Regions from separate parts of the Homo sapiens genome. Here region 2 is linked to region 1. Evidence: promoter capture Hi-C in 16 types of primary human blood cells and fetal thymus (Javierre and others, 2016). All regions are on one chromosome and are shown on one strand. The core of a region is centred on a gene start or on the middle of the fragment in contact, and the rest is flanking DNA. Distances in the headings are between cores, read along the strand shown.

Region 1 (7,014 bases), core at 2,773-5,272:
ACCACACCTGGCCCCTAATTGTTGATTTGAGTGAACATTGTAATATGGTTATGTTGCAAGGAAGCATGAGGGCAAAGTTGTTGTGGTGGTGGGTAAAAGAGCTAAATCCTCAAATACCATAAGATGTCAATAAAGAATATGTAAAACTGAAAATCAAGAAATTCTGTTACAAGGTTATCATTTAGGAGATGAAGAACATGGTAGGGTTGTGTGGAATGTAGGGTGAAGACAGGTGGGGAGAAGCAGGGCCGGGGGCTGATGGCACTCATTGATGTTTTTTGTTATAAGCCTTTAAGAATTATTTGATTTTTCACTTATGTGTGTTACTTTCACTAAAAATAAAAATGCAAACAAAACAATACACATACATTGTAGAAAATATATCACATATAATAAAATGCGCAAAAAGAACATAAAAAGATGGCCAGAATCTCATCCATCCAGAAAACTGAGTGTGCCTGTAGTCTCAGCTATTTAAGAGGCTAAATGGGGAGGATTGTTTCTGTATTTTATGGGCTGCCTCCATAGATGCCTGGGAGTTAGAGGCTGTCATGTGATATGGTATCTGTGACTGGCCACTGTACTCCTGTACCCCAGCATGGGCAGCATAGCAGACCCTATCTCTTAAAAAAAAAAGTCTCACCCACCCAGAAATAACCACTGGTAATATCTTGAAATAGTTTCATCTGAAAACAAATGAAAGTACTTTTAAAAAAACCTTTTGGTTTGTTTGTTTGTTTGTTTAGAGACAGGGTCTCACTCTGTTACCCAGGCTGGAGTGCAGTGGTGCAATATCAGCTCACTGCAGCCTCCAACTCCTGGTCTCAAGCAATCCTCCTGCCTCAGTCTCCCAAAGCACTTGGGATTACAGACATAAGCCAGTGTGCCTGGTGAAAGTATTTTTAAACACTTATAAAACTACAAACACTCTTAATACACTAAAACTACCAACACAGGAAAAAGTAGTGCTTGGGGTTATTCATTTTTTAGTAATTCAGCCTTTCTGATCAAAATGTTTGGCGTCATTTAGTTTGTATCTTCACTAACAGAGCAGAGTGGAGAATTAAGGCAACTTCTCAAAATATTTTTGCTTTAATTATAATTTTTAGAAAAAAAACAGCTTTTGGTCTTAGTTTTTCAAACAATTGGTTCTATTCAGAAGATTAAGAATTTTGGAAAATAAATTCATCAGGAAAACTTACTTCATTTAAAACAGTTTTTGGCTGGACATGGTAGCCTGTAATCCCAGCACTTTGGGAAGTCGAGGTGGGTGGATCACTTGAGGTCAGCAGTTCGGGACCGGCCTAGCCAACATGGTGAAACCCCGTCTCTATTAGAAATACAAAAATTAGCCAAGCATGGTGGTGCATGCCTGTGATCCCAGGTATTCGGGAGGCTGAAGCACGAGATCTGAAACTGGAAGGCGGAGGTTGCAGTGATCCGAGATGGCACCACTGCACTCCAGCCTGGGCAACAGAGCAAGACTCTGTCTCAAAGAAAAAAAAAAAAGAGTTTTTGTATTTGTTGCCCATTTCAAGTGTGGATAAATACTTTCATTTCTCTGATCTGTTTGCTTGAACTGTTTCAGTGAATAACAATATAAAAAGTGCAATTCGGTCTTTATACATCCCATTTAAAATGCAGAAAAACTTCATATGGTAAATACAGAATTCTGAGAAAGTATCCTTGGAAAGGGAATATTGGTGAAACAATTAATAATACAGATTTAATGAACTGGATATATATATATACACATTATATATATATATATATAATATATATGTTTGTTTTTGAGACAGAGTTTCGCTCTTATTGCCCAGGCTGGAGTGCTATGGTGTGAGCTCGGCTCACACAACCTCTGCCTCCCAGGTTCAAGCGATTTTCCTACCTCAGCCTCTCGAGTAGCTGAGATTATAGGCAAGCACCACCATGCCTGGCTAATTTTTTATATTTTTAGTAGAGACAGGGTTTCTCCATGTTGGTCAGGCTGGTCTCGAACTCTCAACCTCAGGTGATCTGCCCGCCTCAGCCTCCCAAAGTGCTGGGATTACAGGCGTGAGCCACTGCACCCAGCCATGAACTGGATATTTTTAAAGAGATTAAGCTACCCTGAATTTTTCAGGAAAAAATACAGTTGATGTATTCTTCTACCTCCTAAGGTCACTGAGTTTTAATTAGCTTAAAACTTGCAACATTCAACTACTATTTACTGAATTCCTCTCATAGCTCAGGCCTTGTCCTTGATATATTAACTTATATGTTCTGTACAATCTCAAAAACAATCTTGCAGTTTTCATGAGGCATTTGTAGAGGCCTAATATGAAGGAATATAGTGGGACATAGAGTATAGTGGATTTCTGTGGGTTTACCTGGCTTTGGTTACTGCTGTTGGTGTTAGAGAATTATGCATATCAAAGATAATGATGGTGCATTTATCAGGAAAGAACAGAGCTACTATCAGCCACCAGAGACTAGCATGGGAGAGTTTCTGTAGGAGGTAGTGTTGATACAGACTCTTGAGAGGACACTGTGAAATTGGTATTTTCTGGGCTGACTTCACAGATGTTCACATATAACCATCCTGCCCACAGAGAGTTATGAAATAGCTATGTGAGTGCACAAGGTAGCTATTGCGCAAACCAAAGTTGTCAGGTACTGCACATATTGTGAAGGGACTATGATGGGACACCGTGTGGTTCAAAGAGCACTGGAGCCCTGGTACATCCTGAGAGTCTTGGGGAGAAAAAGGGGAACACGCATTTGGGGGCCTGAAAGATCTTTCTCTCTGCTTGACTGCAGGGCAGGTTTCTGTCCCTCCCTGTTCTGTGGTATAGATTTTGTCTTTTCCACATCAGTCCAGGTCTTCAGAGTCACTATGAATTATTATTACCATTTTAAAGATGAAGAAATTGAGCCTCAGTGAGGTTCAGTTAGCTAAAGGCACACAACTCTAATAAACTGACAGAATTCCAGGTTCTGATTTAAATTCTATTGCCCTCTCTTGAAAATAAACATGGACAGCTTATATGAGCTTTTGTGTATATATTTTCTGGTCTAAATCTGCGGCAGATATGTGTGTCTTTCTGCGCATGTATATAGTAGATCAAATATGTTAGCTCTATTGACATTTCTTAGAAATAAATATCCTGTTATCAATGATAGTGTTTACAAATTATTTATTTAGAACTTACCTCTTTTCAAGAAAAGGCCTTGTGATTGCTCTCTGCGAATTATAATGCATGAGTATACCTCTTTGTTATTTTGTTTTGTTTCAGACAATTATCTCTGGTTGATGCAGATCACTTGGAGGCTTTTGGGGCTGTATATAACAGGTCAGAACATCTATTTAATGTCAAACTTTATCTACTAGGCAACTTGGAATTCTCAGCCAGCACCAAATATTCAAATCCAACTTCCACACCCCGACAACAGAGGGGTTCCGGGTGTAGGTGTAGTGCTGGTGCACCCATGAGGGTGTTTTTCAGGAATTCTGGAGGTGGTGCTGGAGAGAACACGCTTCTTCTACACGCGCCCCCTACCAGTTTGGTATGCACCTGCAGCCCCAAAGAAGAACTGGCGGGACTCGAGTGTGGCCGTGTCAGACGTGGCAAGAAAAACCAGCAGTTGCCTTTTCATCTCTTTTCTGATGATCTAACCATGAAGTCCCCAGTATTTGAGCATTTAAGGCAGAATGTAAATTCATAATTTAAGAAGATTTTTTGTTACGTGGCTAGCCCAGGTACTGACCGCTGCGGGGGCGGGCTCACACAGTTCCCCCGCTGGCAAGTTTTGTGACTTGCTTTGGAAAACCCGGGAATTGCACCCTCTGCCCTTGGCAAGGTGTGAGCTTCCAGGATCTCTCCGCTGCGACTTCGGGTGTTAGGGTTTTTGGGCTCTTTCCGGGACCCAAGTTCCAGGGCAAGAAGGTCTGCTCGGCGGCCCGCCTCGGGGCCCCGCCCACTTTGGCCAGGGTCGGAGCCGCCCGGAGCGGGAGCCGGAGCCCGAGCGGCCGCGGCCCCTTTAAGGAGCAGCTCTGCGGTAACCCGAGCCCGCAGTCCGGGCGGGCGCGACGGCCGCCGCGGTAGCTGGAGCCTCCGCGACTGCACCTCCAAGCGGCCCGGAACCCGCGGCTTCCCTGGCTCCCGTGAGCATCTCACCGGGCGGCACTGGCCAGCGCCAGCCCTCGGGCCGGCCCGGATGAGCAGACTCCTGTAGACACCCGCCGCCCTCTCCCGGCTCGGCGCAGCCGCCGCCCGCGCGCGACTCGCCCCGGGACCCGGCACAGGTGACGCCGTTTGGAGGGGGGGTTGGGGAGGAAGGCGGGCTTGCCTCGCCCCGCGGCTCCCCCGCGCCAGCCGCCAAGCGCAGCCCGCGGAGAGGGGTGCCGCGGCTTCCCGCCCCTGGCCTAGCGCGGCCGAGAGCTCCTGCGCCTGGAGGCTGGGTGGGCGTCCGGCGCGCGGGAGGCGGCCCGGGGCTCCCGGGCGGGCTCCGGCAGGTGTGTGCGGAAGGCTCAGCATCGTCCCCGCCCGGCGGGCCACGGCGTCGCTCCGGGAGCAAATGGTGTCCCGGGGCCCGCGGCCCCCGCGCCGCCCGGGCGCCCCGCATTCCTCTCGCGTTTCTCGGGCTGCACGATTCCGGCTGCCCTGTCTGCCTGGCGGTGCCTCTCGGGTCTGAGCTTAAAGCGGGTGGGTGCAAACCTTTGGGCATCCAGGGAGAGCTTTCTTGTTAGAGCCCACACACAATCGGGCGCATCAAGTGGGTAAGTCCCCCTCCCCCGCCGCCACCTTCTGAAACAAGTAGCTCTTATTTACCCTTGCAGTTCTCAAGTGGGTCCCATTTTTAGCCACTGAGTGCTGAAAAGTCTAGTGGGAAGGGACCAGGCGTAGAGTCGGAGGGAGAAATTGGTTTCTATTTCCATCTTTACCTCTGTAACCCCTAAGTGCCTCGGTTTACCCAGCCATGAAATGGGATTCGTAATGCCAGCAGTTTCCTACCCCTCCAAGACGGCAGAAAAACCTCTGTGAAAACACTTTGAGTCTAAATTCATTTAAGAGTCGCTGTTGCTGGTCTGTATATTTTTAATTGTACACACATTTGAGTGTTAATGTGGTGCACACTTTTATATGAAATTATGAAATTTACTTTAAAGACTGATCTTGGATAATGTTTAATCCAAATACCAGTTTGGAGAAGATGGAAGAGTTTGTGTGGACCCTAGGAATTGATGTGTGAAATAGGAAAAAAGATTTAATAAAATCTTTACGCAGTCATAAATGGAGTTGAGAAAAATTGACCTTGGATTGTGGTGTTTTAAGTGAGTTACTCCCGTGCCAGCGCATGGTGTCGATTGAAATGTAGCTTCATCTTTGTGTAGCCGATTAAGGTAATAAGTTAGAGAATCCCAGCTCCCTTTTAATTGTGCTATATATGAGGAATTTTTATCCTTGCTTATCTTTTCCTTAAATTGGGCGAAACGAAATTAGAAAAGTGTATTCCCGCCGTGTTAGAAAATATGAAAGAATGGGTGAAGAACCATGGATTTTAGTTTATTTGCCACGCCCCTCCTGTGCCATCTGATAACCCAGAGAATATTTTGAGGGTGCTTCTTTTTTTTTCTACGCCTGCAACTCCTTTTGTCCCATTACCTCCCTCTGGAGTTTGAATCTTTACTGTCCTCATCCTTGAGATGAATTTTATCTGTTTAGGCTGGATGCCTCTGACCCAGCTGCCCAATCAGTCATTATTTATTTACAGTATTAGATTTCCATTTATATTCATTTCACTCTAAGCCTTCTTTACCCTGGTGGAAAGAATAATGGGTCTTTGCTACTAATGCTTTATACTTGGAGGTGAACTAGGAATGGCATGCTCAAGGTGCTGAGACTAATGCAAACCCCAGGGAAGCTAGGTCTTCACTGGAGTCTTCTGAATAGGTCCTGGAGTACAGATGCAAGAGTTGGCCTGTCTTTTCCTTGATTTTCTGAAATCTCCACTGGGTAAATTCATCTGATTGCCAAGGGAAGTCTTATGAGCAGGGAGCTATCAGAAATCTGAGTGTTAGACTGATTAAGAGCCTTCCCTGCAAAAGACTGGGGAGAAAGAAGTAGTGGCTTTGTAGGTGTTGGAGAGTCCTCCCTGTAACCAGATAACTAGTAGGAAGTAAAGGATCCCTAGATTCCCAATTGAGAAATGGGAAAGGGGCTGGGTTTCAAAAGGGAAGTGGCACAGCTTCTAGGCAGGTTTGGGAATGTACCTGAGGTTTGATGGGCCCTTCTCCCTCTTTCTCTTTGAGAGTGTTTCTGGCTCCTCAGAGTCAAGCACAGCTGTCTTAACAGTTTTCAGACCTGTTTACTCTCCTCTTTGGTGCTCTAAAGGAGGCCCAGCGTTCATGTTCCTCTCTCAAAGCTGGTCTTGCATGTATTAGAGGAAAATGGGCAGTTTAGTTTGTAAGAAACTCTTTAGACCTCAGTGTCTCTCCCCACCCTTCTTTCCAAATTAGTCCCACATCCTACAGATTAAGGATTTGTTTGGGCTTCAATATCTCAAACTGGGATACTCAGTTTGGCTGAGAAGAGTAAACTGAACAGTCTACACTAAGATATGAAAAGCTAGCTTTTCTGTTAAGGAAGATAATGAATTAATTGTCTGGGTGAGAATTATGGGCATTTGGACAAAGGAGGGCCAGACTGGGGGTGGAGTTGTGCTGGACAACTTGTGCCCTCGTCCTTGAGAGAGGAAAGGATACCACCAAACTAGTGCAGTCACCCTGTTGTGCTTTTTCTTCTTCCATTTGCCTTGAGAGAAGAAGAAGATAGCAGTATGGAGGTGGAGTCACCATCTGTTCTCAAGGATGGGAAACAGACTTTAACTGAACATTAGGAATGAGCTGTATTCACCTGGCATTGGTATCAGGCGCTGGATGGATTACACCAGAGAATACATTACATTAGGAAAGTAAGGCTAATTTTGTAAGAAAGTCTAGGTATTTCCAGAGTGACTTTAGTGGTATTTTTT
Region 2 (7,014 bases), core at 1,386-3,885, 280 kb before region 1:
ATAATTCCACAGGAAGCTTATATCTTGATACTTATGATGATAATGGCAAACATTTATTGAGCTTTTGATACTTTTCTAAACCCTTAACATAATTTGGGCCTCAGAAAACGTCTATATTGTAGGTATTGTTTTCATCCCTATCTTACAACTGAGAAAACTGATGCAGAGAGGTTTAAGTTCATACATCCAGCAAATGGAAAAGCTGGCATTCAAACCCAAGCAGCGTCTATGTTTGAGTCAAGACTTGATTTTATTTTGACTGGTGAGTGGCCTTCCTAGACTCACATCAAGCTGGGAGAAAGAGTCTCCGTATCCTGTGTCATAATAGCACCATTTCTTCTCACTCTCAAGCCAGCCCTAGTCCTTTTCACCCTAAATGCAAATGTTTCCAATACTAACTTTTCAAGTAAAGACAAAACCCTTGACTGAGTGGCCTTTTTTGGACAGAAAGAGAGAGAGAAATAGCCTCAAGGGCTCCATTCCCTTTTCCTGCACAAGCAAGTGTTTGTTTAAGGTGAAAATGATCATATTTATCATGGAATAGCAGTGCCAAGACTGAAAAGCTGGAAAACATGAGAAGGGTGGCTATAGGGCCAAAGAACATTTTCTAAATACCTCTTTTTGACTAAACTGATTGTTTCTTCCTCGTCTGTCGGTCATGTGAGGTATAACGTACCCTTTTCGAGTAATGGCTAAATATCAAGGAATTTGTGGACCTAGGTATGAGCTTTTAAGAGCAGTGAAAAAGCACTACAGAAGATAACAAGCAAATAGATCTTTTTTCACTTTGGTGTTCAACATGGTAATGTATTTTGAGTCCCTCATGTATTCAAAATCTAAAAGGCGTGGATATTTTCCCCCCAGTAAATTCTAGTTCTACTCTCCCACATAGGTGCCTGTGCATGTCACTGCATGGTTTGCTCAGCTGAATTCCATATACCTGGTGATCTAAATATACAGGCAGCTTACCCAATGACTTCCTGCAAGTTTGAGTGGCTTTGCTAATGGGAAGAAGAAAAGCAGAAGTGGTGAAGAAACCTCAGGCCATGGCCTAAAGATGCATCCCTGTGAGCCGGGCATAGTGGCTCACATCTGTAATCCCAGCACTTTGGAAGGGCGAGGCGGGCAGATCACCTGAGGTCAGGACCAGCTTGGCCAACAATGGTGAAAGCCCGTCTCTACTAAAAATACAAAAATTAGCTGGGTGTGATGGCAGGCGCCTGTAATCCCAGCTACTTGGGGAGGCTGAGGCAGGAGAATAACTTGAACCTGGGAGGTGGAGGTTGCAGTGAGCCAAGACCACGCCATTGCACTCCAGCCTGGGTGACAAGAGCAAGACTCCATCTAAAAAAAAAGATGCATCCCTACCCCAGCTAATGAAATACTCTAAATCTCGAAAGGCGTAGCAGTTACATAGATGTGTATGTTTATCAAAGTCTCTAATTTTATGTTTAAGATCAGTGTATTTCATTGTATATAAATATTGCCTCAGTAAAAATAAGAGGAATTCCTTACATTCTGAAGTGTATTAAGTTAAAAAAAAAACAAATAATAGAACAGTGTGCAGTATACTTTTGCATAAAAAGTGGAAAATGTAAGTATAAACCTATAAATATATATATCTAGGTATATATTTGCTTGTATAACCATTATTACATCAAGCATGACTTACAGGATGTAGTCAGAAAGCAATTTAATTTTTGTCTTTCTCTGTCTCTTTAAATTTATTCAGTGGGACTAGTTTTTTCTGCCCCTGAATAAAAACACAGGCAATTCCCAAGGCTTCTCTGGTAACTTTTAGGTAATACATACTGAGTCACTTTAAGTTGCAACAGACACTTTCAATTCAATAATTAAAATGTTCAGCCCAGACCAGGCACAGTGGCTCATGCCTGCAATCCCAACATTTTGGGAGGCCAGGGCTGTAGGATTGCTTGAGGCCAGGAGTTCAAGACCAGCCTGGACAACATAACGAGACCATGTCTCTACAAAAATTTAAAAATTAGATTGGCATAGTGGAACATGCCTTTAGTCCTAGCTGAAGCTGAGATGGGAGGATCTCTTGAGCCCAGGGGTTTGAGGTTGTAGTGAGCTGTGATCATGCCACTGCACTCCAGCCTTGGTGACAGAGCAAGACCCTGTCTCAACTTTTTTTTTTTAAATTAAAAAATATTCAGCCCAATGTGATAAACTTCTCACTTGATCGGAGGTTCAAACTTCTGCCCCCTGCACGCTTGGCCCAGGAGCAAGTGGGAAGGCCATAGTCCAGGAAGGAGGCTGTAGTCAGCCTCCCTTCTCCTCTGTTTATTCCTGCCCTCCTCTCCCAGCTTGCTGAAACAGGTTTTGTCTAAGGGGCTGGTGCAGCAAAAGTGAAGGAAGAAAATAGTAGCAGGAACACATTTACTTGTCTGATACTAGCACCAGCATTCTCTGGGCTTGGGAGATGTCCCGGCCAGCTCTTTCCCTCATGGGCATGTTTTGGGTTCTTCGGGGCTCTTTCAGCTGCAGTGCCTTTCATGTAGTCTAATGCATCTGTGCTCTGGCTGGTCATGTGAGAGGCTTTCCTCAGTCCTGAGGCATTAATTAGCTACCTCAGAGAGCAGCCACCTCCAGCTCCTTCTGCCAAGGTCCCCACAGCCTTCTACAGGGCTGTCTTAGACACGATCGGTGGCACCCCATCACTGGGACTTGTGCACATGCAGCCCACAACTAGACCCCAGGAAGCCCTCTGCACCCTTTGCCCTGACAAATGCCCTGGGGGCTCTTAACTCCCCAGCTGTAGCTCTCTGCTCTGCTGTTAAAGCCGCTCACCCTCCAGATTTCTTGGGGTGGCTCAGACCTTAAGCCAGGGGATTCCCTAAGCTCTCTGAGTTTTCCATGAAACCCTTCTCATCTGACTTAGGAAAATGGGGATGGAGTCACATGACAAGTCTAGTAAAAAAAAAAAATTTCAACTCTTCAAAAATTACTCTTCTAATGATTCTCTGCACTTGTCATCACCTGTGCAGAGTAGATTTTACTATATGCAAATAAAAATTAAAATCAAGATGTCAGGATCTTAGGATAGTGTGTAGAGGGTGACAAATTAAATGACTAATAAGGAGCTGATGTGAGTAACTTTGGAAAACAGCTTTGTGACTAGATACTGTAAGCTAAAGACAAAAGGAACTGTATACAAACACTGTACTCCAGATAGTACATTTGTTTGTCACATAGCTACTGGTTAACAATTGTTTTTCTCATTTTTTAAAAATTCCCTAAACAATACAGTATAATGGTTAGCAATTCTGAAATTACATACTAGAATCGATTATAGGGCCTAGAATCAGTAATACCCCACCATACCCAATACCCAGATCATGGTTTCTAATCATTGGTCTTCAAGGGTTCTTTGGAGAAATGGCAGGTTCTAGGACTTGGATAAGGAAAATACCAGCTACGTCTGGTATCATCATCCTGTAGCATCAGAAAGTAAGGAAGTGCTCAAGAAAGAAAAAGAATGGGTCTTGTCAAAAGGACACAGATGACTCGTAGTGGCCAAAGCTGGAATAGATTGAATAACACAATTAAGATTATAACCCAAAGAAAAGAATAAATGTTGATGAGGCCATACTGATATGAATAAATAATTGAATAAATAAATAAATGGGGGGAAGGGATAAATCCTTTTTTTCTTTTTTTTTGAAACAGTCTTGCCCTGTTGCCCAGGCTGGAGTGTAGTGGCACGATCTCAGCTCACTGCAACCTGTGCCTCCCGGGTTCAAGCAATTCTCCTGCCTCAGCCTCCCGAGTAGCTGGGATTACAGGCACCCACCACGACACCTGGCTAGTTTTTGTATTTTTAATAGAGATGGGGTTTCACCACGTTGGCCAGGCTGGTCTCAAACTCCTGACCTCAAGTGATCCACTCGCCTCGGCCTCCCAAAGTGCTAGGATTACAGGCATGAGCCACTGCTCCCGGTGAAAGGGATAAATCTTTACTTCTTCCTCCAAGAGGTGGAATTTCCCTCCCTTTGAGAGTGGGCTAGGCTTAGTGACTCATTTCCAAGGATAGAGAGGGAAAAGAGAAAAATAACAACTTTACAAGGAGAAACCCGGCAGGTACCACCTTAACTAGGTGATCAAGGTCAACTTCACCAGTGTTGTCATGTTCCTCGATAGGATTCTATGAGAAAGGCACTTCACCTCTGTGGCACTGTCCCAAAAACCTGTTGACTGTAGCCTAATCATGAGAAAACATGAGAGAAATTCTACAAATTAAGGGACATTTTACAAAATACCTGACTATGAATCTTCAGAAATGTCAAGGTCACGAGAAACATGGAAAAACTAAGAAACTTGTCACAGGCCAGGCACAGTGGCTCACACCTGTAATCCCAACACTTTGAGAGGCAGAGGTGGGAGGATGGCTTGAGCTCAGGAGTTCAAGACCAGTTTGGGCAACATAGCAAGACTCTGTCTCTACAAAAAACATAAACTGTCATGACCAAAGAGGAGACGTGACAATAAAATGCCATGTGCTATCCTGAATTAGATCCTGGAATAGAAAAAGGATGTTACGGTGAAATCCAAATAAAGGCTGTAGTTTAGTTAGTAGTTTAGTGACAATGTTAAATCTTAATTTTCACAAATATACTGTGGTTATGTAAGACATTTACATTAGGGGAATGTGAGTGAAGGATACACAGAGGAACCCTCCACCATCGTTACAATTTTTTTGTAACTCTAAAATTATTCAGAAATTTAAAGTTTACTTTTAAAAATGCTCTGCTTATCAACTTCCAACTCTTTTATGCTCTCAGCATGGATGTGGGTTTAAGAATAATCTAACCACTTTTCTCCCACCTCTTTTTTGGCATGCCCTGAATGGTGGAGTCTGGCGTCTCATTTTGGAGTAGAATTTTTATTATCTTTGAGCTCAGCCGCAAATTCCATTTAAACTTCCTATGATATTTACATATGCTAATAAAAGTCTCTAGAATGGTTTGCAAGAAACCAAAAATCATGGGTGCCTGTGAGGAAATGTACTTCGGTAGCTCAAGGACAAGGAAAGGCAATTTCTTGCTGTTTGGTCTCTTGTACTTTTTGGAATTTAAGCCATGTGAATGTATTACCCCTTCAAAAATGTAATTACAAAAAACACCGTTTGTGTTACTCTTCTCTTGAACCACTATCCAGTGACTCAGGAACTGTTTCTGTAATATTGAGACTTCTGGAGAAAGATTCTTCCACGTGTTCTATGTTGTGCTTCATTAGAAGCTTGGGAAGTCATTTCTTTTCTTCAGGGCAATGAAATCTTTTAACATTTGGATTCTCCTTTGTTTCATTCTTATACATTGCACAAAATGATTGGTGATTGGGTTTTGAGCAGCTTTTTAGATAATTTGACACTTCTTTGGTTGGGATTATTTCCACCATTTGGGGTTCATGGAAAGAAAGAAGAACAGGACCCTGTGAAGGTATCAGTGGCCTCATGAAGATTCATTAGAATGCATATTGCTAGGCTTTTTTACATTTCAGGAAGAAGCTAAAAAAAGGTCAACTTTCTCATCTACCCAAGGCAGTTATCAACTGCAGCATCAATCACACATTTACTATCCATTTATTGAGCACCCACTGTTCATAGCAAGGCTCTCAAGCCTCATATGCCTTCCTAAACAGGACGGAATTAAGCTAATAGTGTCATTAACACAGCTTCTGTCTCATCCAGTTCACATCCCTAATAGTTCCTTACAGAAATACAATTCTTTTGTTGGGGTTGGTAGTTTGTGTCTAAGAAGGGCTAAGACAGGAGAATAAAAATTGTGGTTCCCACTGGGCACAGTGGCTCATGCCTGTAATCCCAATACTTTGAGACATCAAGGCAGGTGGATCGCTTGAGCTCATGTTGCCCAGCCTGGGCAACATGGTGAAACTCTGTCTCTACAAAAAATGCAAAAATTAGCTGGGCGTGGTGGCACATGCCTGTAGTCTCAGCTACTCAGGAGGCTGAGGTGGGAGAATAGCTTGAGCCCTGGAGGCAGAGGTTGCAGTGGCCCATGATCGAGCCACTGTACTCCAGCGTGGGTGACAAAGGCAGAACCTGTCTCAACAAAAAAAAAAAAAAAAAAAAAAAGAGGTTCCCCATAAATAAAATGTAGTATATGTACACATACCACAGAGTAGTATTTAGCCTTAAAAAAAGAAGAGATCCTGCTATTTGCAACAACGTGGATGAACCAGAGGATATTATGTTAAGTGAAATAAACCAGGCATGTAAGGGCAAATCCCATACATGACCCCACTTGTATGTGGAATCTAAAAAAGTCAAATTCATGGAAACAGAGAATAGAATTGTGGTTATCAGGGATGCAGGCAGGGGAAATGAGAGATGCTGGTCAAAGGATACAAGTTTCTGTTACGTAGGATGAATAAATTCTAGATATATAAAGTAAAGCATGGTGACTATAGTTCATAATACTGTATTGTATATTTGAAATTTGATACAACAGATCTTCAGTTTTCTCAAAATATGATAACTATGGGAATTTATGGATACATTCATTAGCTTAACTGTAGCAATCATTTCATGAAGTTTATATATATCAAAATATCACATTGTATACCTTAAATATGTGCAATTTTTATTTTTAAAAATGTTGCTCCCCAAGTTTAGGTTTTTGGTTTCTGTGGGTTCCCATAATCAACTTCCTATTCAGAACATCAGCTAATCGATGTAGCAGAGCATACTTGCCTGGCTTTCTAAGGTGTGCTCTGCAAATGGCATGCTAGACGCCTCTCTATTACTGTAGTTCTTAAGCTTTTTTGGTTATTGAGAATGTTAAATAAACATCTTTTAAAGATAAATGTTAAATAAACATTTTTGCCATCTTTTTTTCTCTATTTTTAGCAAGTCATTTCCCTTATTTAACCGATGTGTCCCTCAAACACCTGAGTGCTACTCCCTATTTGCATCTGTTTTGATAAATGATGTTGACACCCTCCACCGAATTCTAAGTGGAATCATGTCGGGAA

The links. Contacts are between HindIII fragments. The CHiCAGO score rates a contact against its expected background, and 5 or more counts as called.
Region 2: a contact is called between a fragment that was not itself captured here and the fragment with the promoter of TLCD4 in region 1, in 1 of 17 cell types (activated CD4 T cells). The highest score is 5.9, in activated CD4 T cells.

The regions. Positions count from the first base shown.
Region 1 is chr1:95,113,333-95,120,346 of GRCh38, forward strand. It overlaps TLCD4 (TLC domain containing 4), which reads left to right and starts at 4,023. Exons shown (of 7, transcript NM_152487.3): 1 at 4,023-4,285. It overlaps TLCD4-RWDD3 (TLCD4-RWDD3 readthrough), which reads left to right and starts at 4,591. Exons shown (of 8, transcript NM_001199691.1): 1 at 4,591-4,759. RefSeq lists cis regulatory regions at 407-636, 2,248-2,775 and silencers at 4,030-4,176, 4,104-4,383, 4,464-4,513. The HindIII fragment of the contact is 12,433 bases long and covers 1-7,014 here.
Region 2 is chr1:94,830,822-94,837,835 of GRCh38, forward strand. It overlaps SLC44A3 (solute carrier family 44 member 3), which reads left to right. Exons shown (of 15, transcript NM_001114106.3): 6 at 6,890-7,014. Among named protein-coding and RNA genes, the nearest start is that of SLC44A3, 14 kb to the left of the region's middle. RefSeq lists an enhancer at 5,667-6,866. The HindIII fragment of the contact is 5,243 bases long and covers 15-5,257 here.